Linked DNA regions of Homo sapiens: region 1 is linked to region 2. Evidence: promoter capture Hi-C in human tissues and cell types (Jung and others, 2019). All regions are on one chromosome and are shown on one strand. The core of a region is centred on a gene start or on the middle of the fragment in contact, and the rest is flanking DNA. Distances in the headings are between cores, read along the strand shown. Region 1 overlaps NARF (nuclear prelamin A recognition factor). Region 2 holds the start of FOXK2 (forkhead box K2).

Evidence for each region. The method cuts DNA at HindIII sites, captures the fragments that hold promoters and counts their contacts. A contact is called where the count stands out against the background at its distance.
Region 1: a fragment that was not itself captured here is called in contact with the fragment with the promoter of FOXK2 in region 2 in 1 of the 25 tissues and cell types used here (spleen).

Annotation. Positions count from the first base shown.
Region 1 is chr17:82,477,443-82,484,329 of GRCh38, reverse strand. NARF (nuclear prelamin A recognition factor) reads right to left here. Exons shown (of 11, transcript NM_012336.4): 6 at 5,412-5,530; 7 at 3,119-3,248; 8 at 551-614. Among named protein-coding and RNA genes, the nearest start is that of TRX-CAT1-8, 14 kb to the left of the region's middle. The HindIII fragment of the contact is 4,020 bases long and covers 484-4,503 here.
Region 2 is chr17:82,516,692-82,523,108 of GRCh38, reverse strand. It overlaps FOXK2 (forkhead box K2), which reads right to left and starts at 3,377. Exons shown (of 9, transcript NM_004514.4): 1 at 2,802-3,377. The coding sequence starts at 3,220. RefSeq lists silencers at 2,538-2,587, 2,668-2,847, 3,298-3,957. The HindIII fragment of the contact is 19,651 bases long and covers 1-6,417 here.

The DNA.
Region 1 (6,887 bases), core at 1,244-3,743, 38 kb after region 2:
ATGCAGCACCTGGGATGCGGACTGTTGGCGAGGACACACGCTGCTGCCTTTGTGGTGCTCTCTGCCCAGTGCCTGGGGTGCAGCAGGAGCCCTGGGCCTTGCTGGGTATCGAGGTCACCGCCCCCAGCAGAACCCAGACTGCCACTCTTGGTGCAAAGGGGCCTGAGGGAGCTGCCCCACTGCCCCATAGACCACACGGAATGTGAGGCACAGACGGCACTCAGGAAGAAGGGGGCTGGTGCACACATGAACAGCCCTGCGCCAGCGAGGACAAAGCTGTTTGTGCATTTTGTCCTTCCTCAAGGGTTTAGGGTGGCAATCACACCATGGAAGCCCGCCAAACCTTCAACTCCCTGGCAGCCCTGGTGAATGGTATCCCATTCAACAGCTATAGGGTGGCTGAGGGTTGTGGCAGGGGCCTGGGGGACTGCATCGCAGTGCTTCACATGGCCTCGTCATAAAGCAGGGCAGCCCTGGGCCTGGCAGGTGGCTGGCAGGGCTGACGAGAGGTCCTGCCCCCCAGAGGACTCTCCCCAGAGAAGCCACTTACAGAGTGTCGACGGCAGCATCTCTCACTGAGAGGTCACCTTGCTCCATTATTTGAGCAATTTCACCTGCAGACAAACGAAGTAAGACACTGAAAAGACACAGGTGGCCACAGGAACTTTTCTTCCCCTGCAGGAGATTTGACATTAGTGACCCTGGGTGACCTCCCTCTTATGAAATCTCCATCACACACAGCAGGAGTCCATCTAAAGGGCAAAGTGAGGCCAATAAAATGAAACACTAATAAAACGTAAGCAGAATTCAATTCTAACTCCTCTTTCCATTCCTCTTTCTGCCCTTGAACTGTGGGATTTATGTAAACAATCTCTCCATGATTTTCCCATGTGGAAAATCTGTAAACTTTTTTGGCCTACTTTGCATGAAACAAACAGAAAACTTTTGTGTATAACAAGCTCACAGAGATAGGATGATGAAATATACACTGGTTGCATTTTTTTTTTTTTGAGATGGAGTCTCACCTCCGCCGCCCAGGCTGGAGTCCAGTGGTGCAATCTTGTCTCGCTGTAACCTCTGCCTCCCGGGTTCAAGTGATTCTCTTGCCGCAGCCTCCTGAGTAGCTGTGATTACAGGTGTGCACTACCACGCCTGGCTAATTTTTGTATTTTTAGTAGAGACGGGGGTTTCACCATGTTGGCCAGACTGGTCTCGAACTCCTGACCTCAGGTGACCAGCCTGCCTCAGCCTCCTGAAGTGCTGGGATTACACGTGTCAGCCACTGCACCCAGCCCTTTTTTTTTTAAGAAACAAGGTCGCCAGTCTAGCCAACATGGCGAAACCCCCTCTCTACTAAAAACACAAAAATTAGCCTGGTGTGGTGGGGCGCACCTGTAATCCCAGCTACTCGGGAGGCTGAGGGAGGAGAATCGCTTGATCCTAGGAGGCGCGGAGGTTGTAGTGAGCCAAGATGGAGCCACTGCAGAGCCTGGGTGACAGAGTGAGACTCCGTCTCAAAAAATAAAAAAAAAGAGACGAGGTCTCACTGTGTTGCCCAGCAAGGTCTCAAACTCCTGGGCTCAAGTGATCCTCCAGCCATAGCCTCCTGAGTGGCTGGAATTAGAGGTCTGAGCCATTGTACCCAGCTACATTTATATGACAATTGTTTATTCTGCAATGAGATCAACTGAAAGTGAGAACCACTTTCTGTATTTCCTTTTACATGAGGATGCCTGAAAAAACCCTTAATAGAAAAACTGAGCCTCTAAAACTATGGCTGTGGCATCACATTAGATGCTGTGAGATGGCTGGAAACACAGGTAAGAAAATAGCGTAATTTCCTATAAATCTGCACTCAGAAAAAAGATGGCTGGACATGGTTCTTCTGACAGCCCACCGCGCATGTTTTATTTTGTCAACGTAAGCAGATGGCCCCTGGGCCCTTCCTCTGAGAGTGAAGGATGGCCGTGCTGAGGACCCTTCTATCCCTCATCCTTCAACACCCCTGCCACATCACCCCACAGGGAGCCTGTGCCTATGGGGTGGGGACCTTTCCAGAGGCGTCTGCGTGCTAGAATTTCAAGTCAGGGGCCTGTGAGGGACATTGGCGCCCTTAAAGATTGTCCCTGAGAGCTGACCTCTCTGCCTCATCTACCACTGATCTAAATACCTGCAGGGACCTGTTTTCAGAGACCAATTAAAACAGTTCCGCCAGAATTTTAACAAAGTCTTAAGCTTCCCCCACCAACTGATGTCAACATTCTTCTGAATGGGTTCTACATAATTCCAGGGAATCACTTCCATCCACAACACACACAGAACTCACTGTAGGCTCTTAACATCTGAAAGGAGTGGCCAATACCGTGGTAAAGGCAATATCACTGGAGCAAACGTGCCTTTTTCATTTTATTCTGAATGAAAAAAACTTCACTTGTGTTTTAAGTGCAGACTTGGTTTGTGATTAGGAGACCCGCTATGGCTATAGACAACTTTCCCACCAAGAGATAAGTACCTTACATGGACTGTAATGTAAAGTTAGGGCCACCACACTGCCCAAGTGGTTCTCCCAGGACCTGATTTATCTTTTTTTTTTTTTTTTGAGACAAAGTTTTACTCTTGTTGCCCAGGCTGGAGGGTAATGGCGCGATCTCGGCTTACTGCAACCTCTGCCTCCCGGGTTCAAGCGATTCTCCTGCCTCAGCCTCCCGAGCAGCTGGGATTACAGGCATGTGCCACCATGCCCGGCTAGTTTTTTGTAGTTTTAGTAGAGACGGGGTTTCTCCATGTTGGTCAGGCTGGTCTCGAACTCCTGACCTCAGGTGATCCACCTGCCTTGGCCTCCCAGTGCTTAGATTACAGGCGTGAGCCACTGTGCCCAGCTGAGACCTGATTTATCTTGAGGAAGATGCACAGAGGAGACAGGAGGCTAGATCGAACATGACCCTTCTCTTCACCTGCAGTTAAGCCCCTAGGACCCTCAGCTGTCAGTAACTTCAGACAAGCGACCACATTGGCAGGCACTGAGATGGCTCTGGGACACAGATCTGCCTGGCTCTGGTGTGTACTGGCCAGTAGGAGATTACCCCAGCGCCCAGGTGCACCCCCGCCCACCTCTCACCTGATGTTAACACGCAGTCAGCGCCCCGGGAGCCATGCAAAGCAGGGGGAAGGCTTTCCTGAAGAGCCTCCAGCTTCTTGTCATAACAAGGGGCCACAATGACGTGGAAAATCTTCTCTGGAGACAGGTTCTGTGGGAGAGGGGCACCCATATTTAGGGCTGGTGAAGAGGTGACGGCAGCTTACGCTTGGTGCCCAGAACAAGAGGGATGGGAGACCGAATGCCCCCTGCTGCTGCCCTCCAGACACTGCATGCTGCACTCTTTTTTTTTTTTTTTTTTTGAAATGGAGTCTTGCTCTGTCACCAGGTTGGAGTGCAGTGGCGTGATCTCAGCTCACTGCAAACTCTGCCTCCCGGGTTCAAGCGATTCTCCTGCCTCAGCCTCCCGAGTAGCTGGGACTACAGGCGCATGCCGCCACGCCTGGCTAATTTTTTGTACTTTAGTAGAGATGGGGTTTCACCGTGTTGCCCAGGCTGGTCTCAAACTCCTGAGCTCAGGCAATCTGCCCGCCTCGGCCTCCAAAGTACTAGAATTACAGGCGTGAGCCATCGAGCCTGGCTGCATGCAGCACTTTCTTGGGGCTGGGACTGTTGTGGGTCTGAGGCCGGGCCCCACAGATGAAAGTGCTGTAGCCACATCTGGCTCCCATCCCCTCTTCAACTCTACCGAGCACCAGCACTCCATCCATGTCTGTCTGCTGCCTCCCTCAGGACTGGGTGTGGTCCTCCCAAACATCTGCAAAGCCCCCCAGCCAGTGGAGCCTCCTGGAAGAACCGGGAAGGCTGAGCCCATTTCCTCCTGAACCTGTGCACATGGGGACAAAACAAGTAAGAGGAAGTCCAGCCGGCGTGGAGCTGTTGCTGGTCCAGCATGGAGCCATTGCAGGAGGCCTGAGTGAGTGTGTGTGTGTGTGTGTGTGTGCGCGCGCTGGCTACTTCACCCACAGACTTTCCTGAATCTTCCCAAGCGATGCCCACCCAAGCTACCCCTCTCCTGGGTCCACACAGAGCAGGTGCCTGTGGCTGGGCCTGAACTGGTGGCAAAGCCAGGAGCCAGCAGTTGCCAAGTGACCCTGTGGTGAGGTCTGGGTGGAAAGGACCCACTCAGGGCAGGGGCGGAGCAAAAGAGGAAACCCGCCCCTGGTTGCAGCTGTGCCAGGTGGTCAGGTGAGAGGCTGCTGGAGGCCGGGTCTCTGCGGCTGCCCCTCATGGCACCTACAGGAGGACACATAGCTCTGGGCTCCATCCAGGGGAGAGGGCAGCACGTGGAAGACCTAGAAACACATGGCTCTCTTCAGGTGGGGGCAGGGCAAGGGACAGAAAGTCCCATAGCTCATTTTTCGGTCCTGCCTAAACTGAACGTGTATACTCTGACATCATGTTTATAATTTGCCAAATTATGACTTTATGGGTAGAAAGAAACTAGATAGAAGGAAAACACTGCCTATTGCTAAAATAACAAGGCTGCCAAATGTGCGTGCCTTTTTAGGCTGACTTCAAATGTCTGAAAGATCCTGATGTTACCCTCTACTCCAGTTACCACAGTGCCTGGACATGGCTGCTTCCCCGGAGGGAGGTGTAAAGTCTGATTGAGAAGAGCAGTGTGGGGCATGCCAGCGGCTGGAGAATAAACCATGGGATTAGGGTCCCTTTGAGGGTGGCCTTGGAGACATCAGGGAGTTCTGGGAGGACCTGGGGGCCGCAGAGGGTTGTGGGAAGGGAGAACACGACGGGCCGAGGCAGGGGGCACGCAGGAGCCTCAGGCCGGGACTCACTCCATCAAGAGGAGGACAGCATCATGGCCACTGTGGAATCTCACAGAAGTGGCTAAGGAAGTCATGTGATGCCCGTGGTCTGAGGGAAAGGCCAGGGCAGAGGCCAGGTTTGGCTCCCTAAATGACAGCTGCCCTCAGCCTCCAGGCACAGGCCACTTTAGGCCTCCTTGGGTGAGGCATCCCAACAGCAGGCAGGCAGCATCTCTGGGCAAGGTCCGGGGCCTCATTCTCAGCAGGGTGGGCAGCATTTCTACTCTACCCCGAATGGGCCCAGGAAAACCACCAGATGCCACAGAAAAGGTTAAGAAGAAAGAAAAAGGTTGTAAGAGGAAGGGAGGAATAGAGACGGGCGTTGGTGAGAAACAGCACTGCTGATGTTTCCTGAAGCCACAGCTTCCTTTTTGCTCACCTGGGGGGCCGTGACCACGCTGGACAGATGGGGAACCTCCCCTTCCTGGGCCCCTGTGCCATGGTCCTCCCTCACCTGCCCTTCCTGCCCTCCAGAGAGGTCAGCTTACCTGCTGTCTGGCGAAATAATCCTTCACCAAAGAGCCCATGACCTGCTGGGGGGACTTGGCGGTGCAGAGGTGGGCAGTGATGGGGCGACCCAGCACCCGCTCGGCGTATCGGACCCAGCCTGGGGAGAGAAGGGATCCACGGTCAGCTCCTTACTGCTTCCTCTGGTCTTCCTGTAACGCACCAGGGAATGCTGAGCTCGAGTCCCTGCCGCCCCAGGGTGAAGCCAGAACACCTTTTCCCCAGGCCTTACCAGGAGCTCGTGCTGGACCCAAAACCCGTCCTCGGTGGCCCGGCTGTGGGTCATGGGAACCTGCAGGCCTGGAGGCTACTGGGAAATGGGAGCATCCCTGCAAGGCCGACAGACAAGTAAGAGTCGGAGTAACAGGTCCCCCAAAAAGGTGAAGGGGAACAAGCACTGAAAGGCAGCAGGAGCAGCGGCCCAGGCTGCACCGTGCAAAATCGCCTGGCCAGCTACAGCGTCCTTACAGCCAGGACACGCAGCTACCGCTCAGGGGAGAGCAGCCACATGCTTGCCCAACTTCTCTCACCGGCGAGAAACTAACAGCCCAACAACTGCACGCTTTTTAAAATATAAGAAATCTATACTCCTCAAGTCGTAATAAATAGCAACATCTGTAGTGTCACTACATGCCCGCACAATCTGAGCACTTTCCTGAGGTTGAGTGCTGCTGTGGTTTCCAGGGTGAACACAAGTCACCACTGCAGCTGACCACACAACAGCAATTCCACCGCAGGAGCCCTGCCTACTCCTTTCCCGCAGGCGTACAGCCCAGTCAGAGTGCATAAGAACATCACAGAACTTGCTGACCTGGCAACTGATTTTAGGACCTGACCCCACAGACACTTGCACACCTGTGTACATGAGAGCCACGCAACCTGCCCTCAAACAGGGGCTGGGTAGATACCTTGGGAGACTCTACTCCTGGCGGGGAAGGTCGCCCAGAGGGTGAGAGGCAGCTCATGTCCCACAGTCAGACATGATAATCCCATTTAACAATCAAAGTTTCACCTATAAAGACGCCCGTGTGTGCTCAGGAAACACCCACAGAGACACAGAAGCAGCCACAGAGAGAAATGCCCCAGGGCCGGGCGCAGTAGCTCACGCCTGTAATCCCAACACTTTGGGACTGTGAGGCAGGCGGATCACTTGAGGGCAGGATTTCAAGACCAGCCTAGGCAACACGGTGAGACTCTGTCTCTAGAAAAATAAAAAAATCATCCAGGCGTGGTGGTGCACACCTGTAGTCCTAGCTACTTGGGAGACTGAGGCAGGAGGATGGCTTTGAGCCCAGGAGTTCGAGGCTGGAGTCAGCTATGATTGCATCACTGCTCTCCAAGCTTGGATGACAGAGCAAGACTCTGTGTTGTTTTTTTGGTTGTTTTTGTTTTTTTTTTGAGACAGTCTTGCTCTGTCACCCAGGCTGGAGTGCAGTCACACGATCTTGGCTCACTGT
Region 2 (6,417 bases), core at 2,128-4,627:
CAAAAGGTCTGAATTCGGCCAGGCGTGGTGGCTCACAGCTGTAATCCCAGCACTTTGGGAGGCCAAGGCGGGTGGATCACGAGGTCAGGAGATCAAGACCATCCTGGCCAACATGGTAAAACCCCATCTCTACTAAAAATACAAAAATTAGCTGGGTGTGGTGGCGTGTGCCTGTAATCCCAGCTACTCAGGAGGCTGAGGCACAAGAATTGCTTGAACCAGGGAGGCGGAGGTTGCAGCAAGCCAAGATCACGCCATTGTACTCCAGCCTGGCAACAGAGCGAGACTCCGTCTCAAAAAAATAAGGTCTGAATTCTGGCCCTCACTGAAAGGTCAACTTATCTCCATGTTTATCATGTTAGCATGTGCAGAATTCAATTCAATACAAATCGTTCTGGCTGAATGGTGAGGAGAATTTTCTTTAAAAACTCAAAATCGGGCCAGGCACAGTGGCTCATGCCTGTAATCGCAGCACTTTGGGAGGCCGAGGCGGGCAGATCATGAGGTCAGGAGATCGAGACCATCCTGGCTAGCATGGTGAAACCCCGTCTCTACTAAAAATACAAAAAAAAATTAGCTGGGCGTAGTGGCGGGTGCCTGTAGTCTCAGCTACTCGGGAGGCTGAGGCAGGAGAATGATGTGAACCCGGGAGGCATAGCTTGCAGTGAGCCGAGATTGCGCCACTGCACTCCAGCCTGGGGGACAGAGCAAGGCTCCGTCTCAGGAAAAAAAAAAAAAAATTCCAAAAAACTCAAAATCTTGGCCAGGTATGTGGGAGGAGTGGTGAGATCATAGCTCACACCTGTAATCCCAGCCTGGAATGCAGTGGTGCAATCATAGCTCACAGCAACTTCAAACTCCTGAGCACTGGGGCAGGAGGATCGCTTGTGCCCAGAAGTTTGAGGCTGCAGTGAGCTGTCATCATACCAGTACACTCCAGGCTAGGTCACAGAGACCGTGTCTCAAAATCAAAAACAAACAAACAAAAACTCAAGATCCTCACAGTAGACGCAAACTTCCTTTGTTGTGACACAGTATTTTGTAAAAAAAAAAAAAAAAAAAAAAAAGTCAGATTAAAGGGTAGCCATTAGGACCCTACCATTGATTTCATACCGTCTACAGTATAAACACACATAAATAGCATTTTCATTTGAAAATTTCTTTTTTTTTTTTGAGGCGGAGTCTTCCTCTGTCCCCCAGGCTGGAGTGCAGTGGTGCGATCTCGCTGGCTGCAAGCTCCACCTCCAGGGTTCACATTCTCCTGCCTCAGCCTCCTGAGTAGCTGGGACTACAGGCGCCCGCCACCGCGCCCGGCTAATTTTTTTTTTTTTTTTGTATTTTTAGTAGAGACGGGTTTCACCGTGTTAGCCAGAATGGTCTCGACCTCCTGACCTCGTGATCCACCCGCCTCGGCCTCCCAAAGTGCTGGGATTACAGGCGTGAGCCACCGCGCCCGGCCTGAAAATAACATTCTTTAAAATGCTACTACCAAAGTTTAAGGAATATGCTGGTGCACCTTTCCATGCTAAGAAACAGAACAGCGCATGCACACACACACAACACGCAAGTCAAGAAGAAAAGCAACAGCTCTTACCAGCATCTCCAACAACCGAAAGCGTTAAAAATTCCAATTTGTAGGCCGGGCGCGGTGGCTCACGCCTGTAATCCCAGCACTTTGGGAGGCCGAGGCGGGTGGATCACGAGGTCAGGAGTTCAATACCAGCCTGGCCAAGATGGTGAAACCCCGTCTCTACTAAAAATACAAAAAATTAGCCGGGCGCGGTGGCAGGCGCCTGTAATCCCAGCTACTCGGGAGGCTGGGGCAGGAGAACCACTTGAACTCAAAGGGCGGAGATTGCAGTGAGCCAAGATCGCGCCACTACACTCCAGCCTGAGCGACAAAGTGAGCCTCCGTCTCAAAAAACAAAAAACAAAAAAATTCCAGTTTGTGTGGACAAAGGCTGTACTTGCAATGATCTAGAAGTGAGCCCCTGAGGAATAATTAGCATTTCCTAGACAGCAAGTTTGTGTTTCAAGCAGAGTAAACGATAACTTCATAAAACCACAGGACCAAGCTAAATTGTTTTGTAGCAGGATAGGCAGTTCCCTATCAGGCTGACTTAACACTCTACATGACCTTGTAATAATTCCTAATCAACTGTCTTTTTGTAGAAGTTATGCGAAAAGCATCTAGTTTTCCCTAAATTTTAAGGTTCAGAGCACAGATTGAAAATCCATCATGCTTGAAGCGTCTTCCAATTTGGCCTACTGAAAACACGGCAGGGAAAAAGGAGTCCTTCCTGCTTAAAACACCGCACTCTTGAAACAGCTCACTACTGAAAACGACTGAACAACAACAACAACAAAAGACAACAGACAACCCTTCATCGGTTAAGAGACATAGATTTTAGTTCGGGGCAGTTCCTCCCACCGCACACCGTTTTCACATTTCTGTTCAGCGCGACCTCGCTGCAGAATAGAAACAGCACACGTGAACTCCCCGCACGCACAGAACCCAGAAACCTTGACCCGCGCGCGCAGCCGCCCGCAGCCCCGGCTCCAGGAAGGGGGAAAGACGGGGGGCTGCACCTGCCAGGAAGGGGACCGGGAGGACGGGGGTCGGGGCCAGGGGCTGTCGAGGGTTGGGATCCAGCCGGGGCCTGGGTCCCGCTGGTGGTCCCGGCTGTGGGAGAGTCGGGCCCCCGCTCGTGGGTGGTCCCGGGCCTGGGCGCGTGTCCCGTCCCGTCCTGCCAGGCGCTGCAGGCCGCAGACCCCGCCCGCCCCGCCCCGAGGCCACTCACACGCGCGGCAGCTGCAGCGGCGGCGCCCCGCGCCTCTGGAACACGCCGTCCACGAATACCCCGTTCTTGCCCAAGCAGCGCAGGTAGAAGTCGCCGCCGGCGTCGGGCCTGGGCTGCGCGGGCGGCAGCTCCGGAGCGGCCCCGCCATGGCCGCCGCCGCCCGGGGGCGTGAAGATCTCGAGGTGGCGCCGGGAGATGAAGCTCGAGTGGCCCATGCTCACGTCCACCGAGCCCTGCGACGAGTTGCGGCCGATGGTCACCGAGCGCTTCTTCATCAGATACTCGAACTCGCGGCCCTCCAGGCGCGCCACGGCCCAGCCGCCCGGCGGGGACCCGCCGCCCCCGGCCCCGCCGCCCCCGGCCCCGCCGCCCGCGGGTGGCGTGCCCGCGCCCGAGAGCGCCGCCGCGGCCGCCGCCATGGGCCTGCGTGAGGGCCCCCGGGCCGCTCCGCGCGGGCGCCGGTGGCGCGGGCCGAGGCCCAGGCCGCGCGGGTCGTCGGCCGCCGCGCACCGGAGCTGAGGGAGGGGGCCGAGCGGAGGCCGCCGGCCGGCGAGCGAGCGAGCGGCGGCGAGGGGCGGGAGCACGCGCGGCCGCGCCACCGAGCCGGCACGCCGGGCCCGCCCCTCGCTGACGGACGGTTACGCCGGCCAATGGGGGCGGCGTACGGCAGTGGGGCTACCGAAGCAGGCCAATGGCAAGACACGTCGCACCAAGCTGCCGGCACGTCCGGCGGCGACGCCCGACGCAGTCCCGACTCCGGGCGCCGCGGAAAACCCGGGGCGGACAGTCGGCAGCCCGCGCGGGATCGGGGCTGGCGCGGGGTTGGCGCGGGCGCGGGAGCTCGGGGGTCTGAGCCCGGCCTGGCAGCGCCTTAGGCGCGGCGGGCGGGACCAGGCCCAAGGTCACAGCGGGCGCCAGGCACGCAGCGGCCCCCAACCCGGCGTGGACGCCGGGGTGCGGATAGGCGGCGGCCCGCGAGCCCAGGCCCGGCCGCCGAGCGGCCTTTTCCCCGCGAGGTGCGGGAATATCGCGGAGGGGCCGCGTGCCGCGTGGCCTCAGACCCAGGGGACCCGGTGACACGTTCGTTTTTAACCAGCAGCTCCAGGACTGGATGTCGTTATCTTTCCTGGCTAGCGAGTCATGTCATTGTGTCAAAACTGTCCTGCAAAATACGCAGAAGTTCTGAATCACATTTACTTAACTGTCGTCAGCACACAGTTTAAAAATATACACGAGGCCGGGCGCGGTGGCTCACGCCTGTAAGCCCAGCACTTTGGGAGGCCGAGGCGAGCGGATCACCTGAGGTCAGGAGTTCGAGACCAGCCTAGCCAACATGGTGAAATCCCAGCTCTACTAAAAATACAAAAAAAAAAAAAAAAATAGCCGGGTGTGGTGGTGCACACCTGTAGTCCTAGCTACTCAGGAGGCTGAGGCAGGAGAATTGCTTAAACCTGGGAGGCGGAGGCAGGAGAATTGCTTCAACCTGGGAGGTGGAGGTTGCAGTAAGCCGAGATCGCGTCACTGCACTTCAGTCTGGGCAACAAGAGTGAAACTACGTCTCATATGTATATATATGAACTATATATATGTGAACTATATATATATATATGAACTATATATATATGAACTATATATATATGAACTATATATATGAACTATATACATATATGAACTATATATATATGAACTATATATATATGAACTCTCATGAACGAATAGTTAATATCTTAACCAATCTGATACTAAGTTTTTAAAAAAAGAATTTCGCCACCGTTTAAAAAATTACAAGATCCCATCTAAATCAAGATGATCAATAGTCCAGATGTTCACTAATCAATGAAACTCCTAACATTAAAAAGAAAAAATCCTGTGGCCGGGCGCGGTGGCTCACACCTGTAATCCCAGTGCTTTGGGAAGCCGAGGCGGGTGGATCACAAGGTCAGGAGTTCAAGACCAGCCTGCCCAACATAGTAAAAGCCCGTCTCTACTAAAAATACAAAAATTAGCCAGGCATGGTGGGGCGTGCCTGCAGTCCCAGCTACTTGGGAGGCTGAGGCAGTAGAATCGCTCGAACCTGGGAGGCGGAGGTTGTGGTGAGCAGACATCACGCCACTGCCCTCCAGCCTGGGTGACAGAGGAGACTCCGTCTCAAAAAAAAAAAAAAAAAAAAAAATTGGGAAAAGAAAGAAAAAATCCTGTAAATGTATCTCACGGGTACTTAACCAGTTGTGGAGACGTTCAAGGTTCAGGATCATGAAAAGTCTACAACCTCTTAAACAGGAAGAATTCCGTGGGAAGTCAGTGTCAGCCCTAGAAACCATGGCTTGGGCTCCAAGCGCGCATCTTCGCAAAACTGAAATAGCAACAAATGGTACCAATTTAGTCTCTGCTGGGGAGGGACTGCCCCCTGAATTGTCTCACTTCTTTCAGCATGGTGGTTCCTGCAGGGTGTGTGAGGAGAAGATCCTATTATAGCCTATATATACAGGTTATAGCAAACACCCCAGGGTTCCTCTATTTGCTGCTTGTTAAATAGCAAAGAACAATTAGAAGAGAGAAATGATATAATTTAGGTACAGAGGCCTGGCACGGTGGCTCATGACTGAATCCCAACACTTTGGGAGGCCGAGGTGGGTGGATCACTTGAGGTTAGAAGTTGGAGACCAGCCTGGCCAACATGGTGAATCCACATATCTACTAAAAATACAAATATTAGCTGGGTGTGGTGGCACGTGCCTATAATCCCAGCTACTTGAGAGGCTGAGGCAGGAGAATCGCTTAAACGCGGGAGGCGGAAATTGCAGTAAGCAAGCGGAGATTGCACCACTGCATTCCAGCCTGGGTGACAAAGCCAGACTCTGTCTCGAAAATAATCATCATCATCATAATGTAGGTACAAAAGGAGTTTAGTGTGAGTAGAAAGACTTGAGACTGGACTTAAACGGAGCAGGATAAAGTGGAGATCCTGAACAGGAACCACCAACTGGGGGCCCCAGGCAGGAGACATCAGGGTCAGTTCATGCATTTTTATTCCTTCAATGTGTAAAAACTTTTTCTAAAAGAAATGGAAATTAATGTGTCCCTCTGAATGTAACATTTACATGTCTTTTTTTTTTTTTTTTTTTTTTTTGAGTGGAGTTTTGCCCTTGTTGCCCAGGCTGGAGTGCAATGGTGCGATCTTGGCTCACTGCAACCTCCACCTCCCAGGTTCAAGTGATTCTCCTGCCTCAGCCTCCCAAGTAGCTGGGATTACAGGTGCTCACCACCACGCCTGGCTAATTTTGTATTTTTAGTAGACGAGGTTTCACCCTGTTGGCCAGGATTGTCTCGATCTATTGACCTCGTGATCCACTTGCCTGGGCCTCCCAAAGTGCTGGGATTACAGGCGTGAGCCACCATGCCCGACCTACATTTACATGTCTTAATTGCCATATATGTGTTTGTAATTATAGTACAAATTCCTACAGGTGCAAAGTGTTCTGGCAGGATTTCCTAGACAGAAAAAATTGTTTCATTAAATATTCACTTATATATTAGAGGAATTTTTTTTTCTTTTCCTTTTTTTTTTTTTTTTGAGACAGTCTCACCCTGTTGCCCAGGCTGGAGTGCGGTGGCC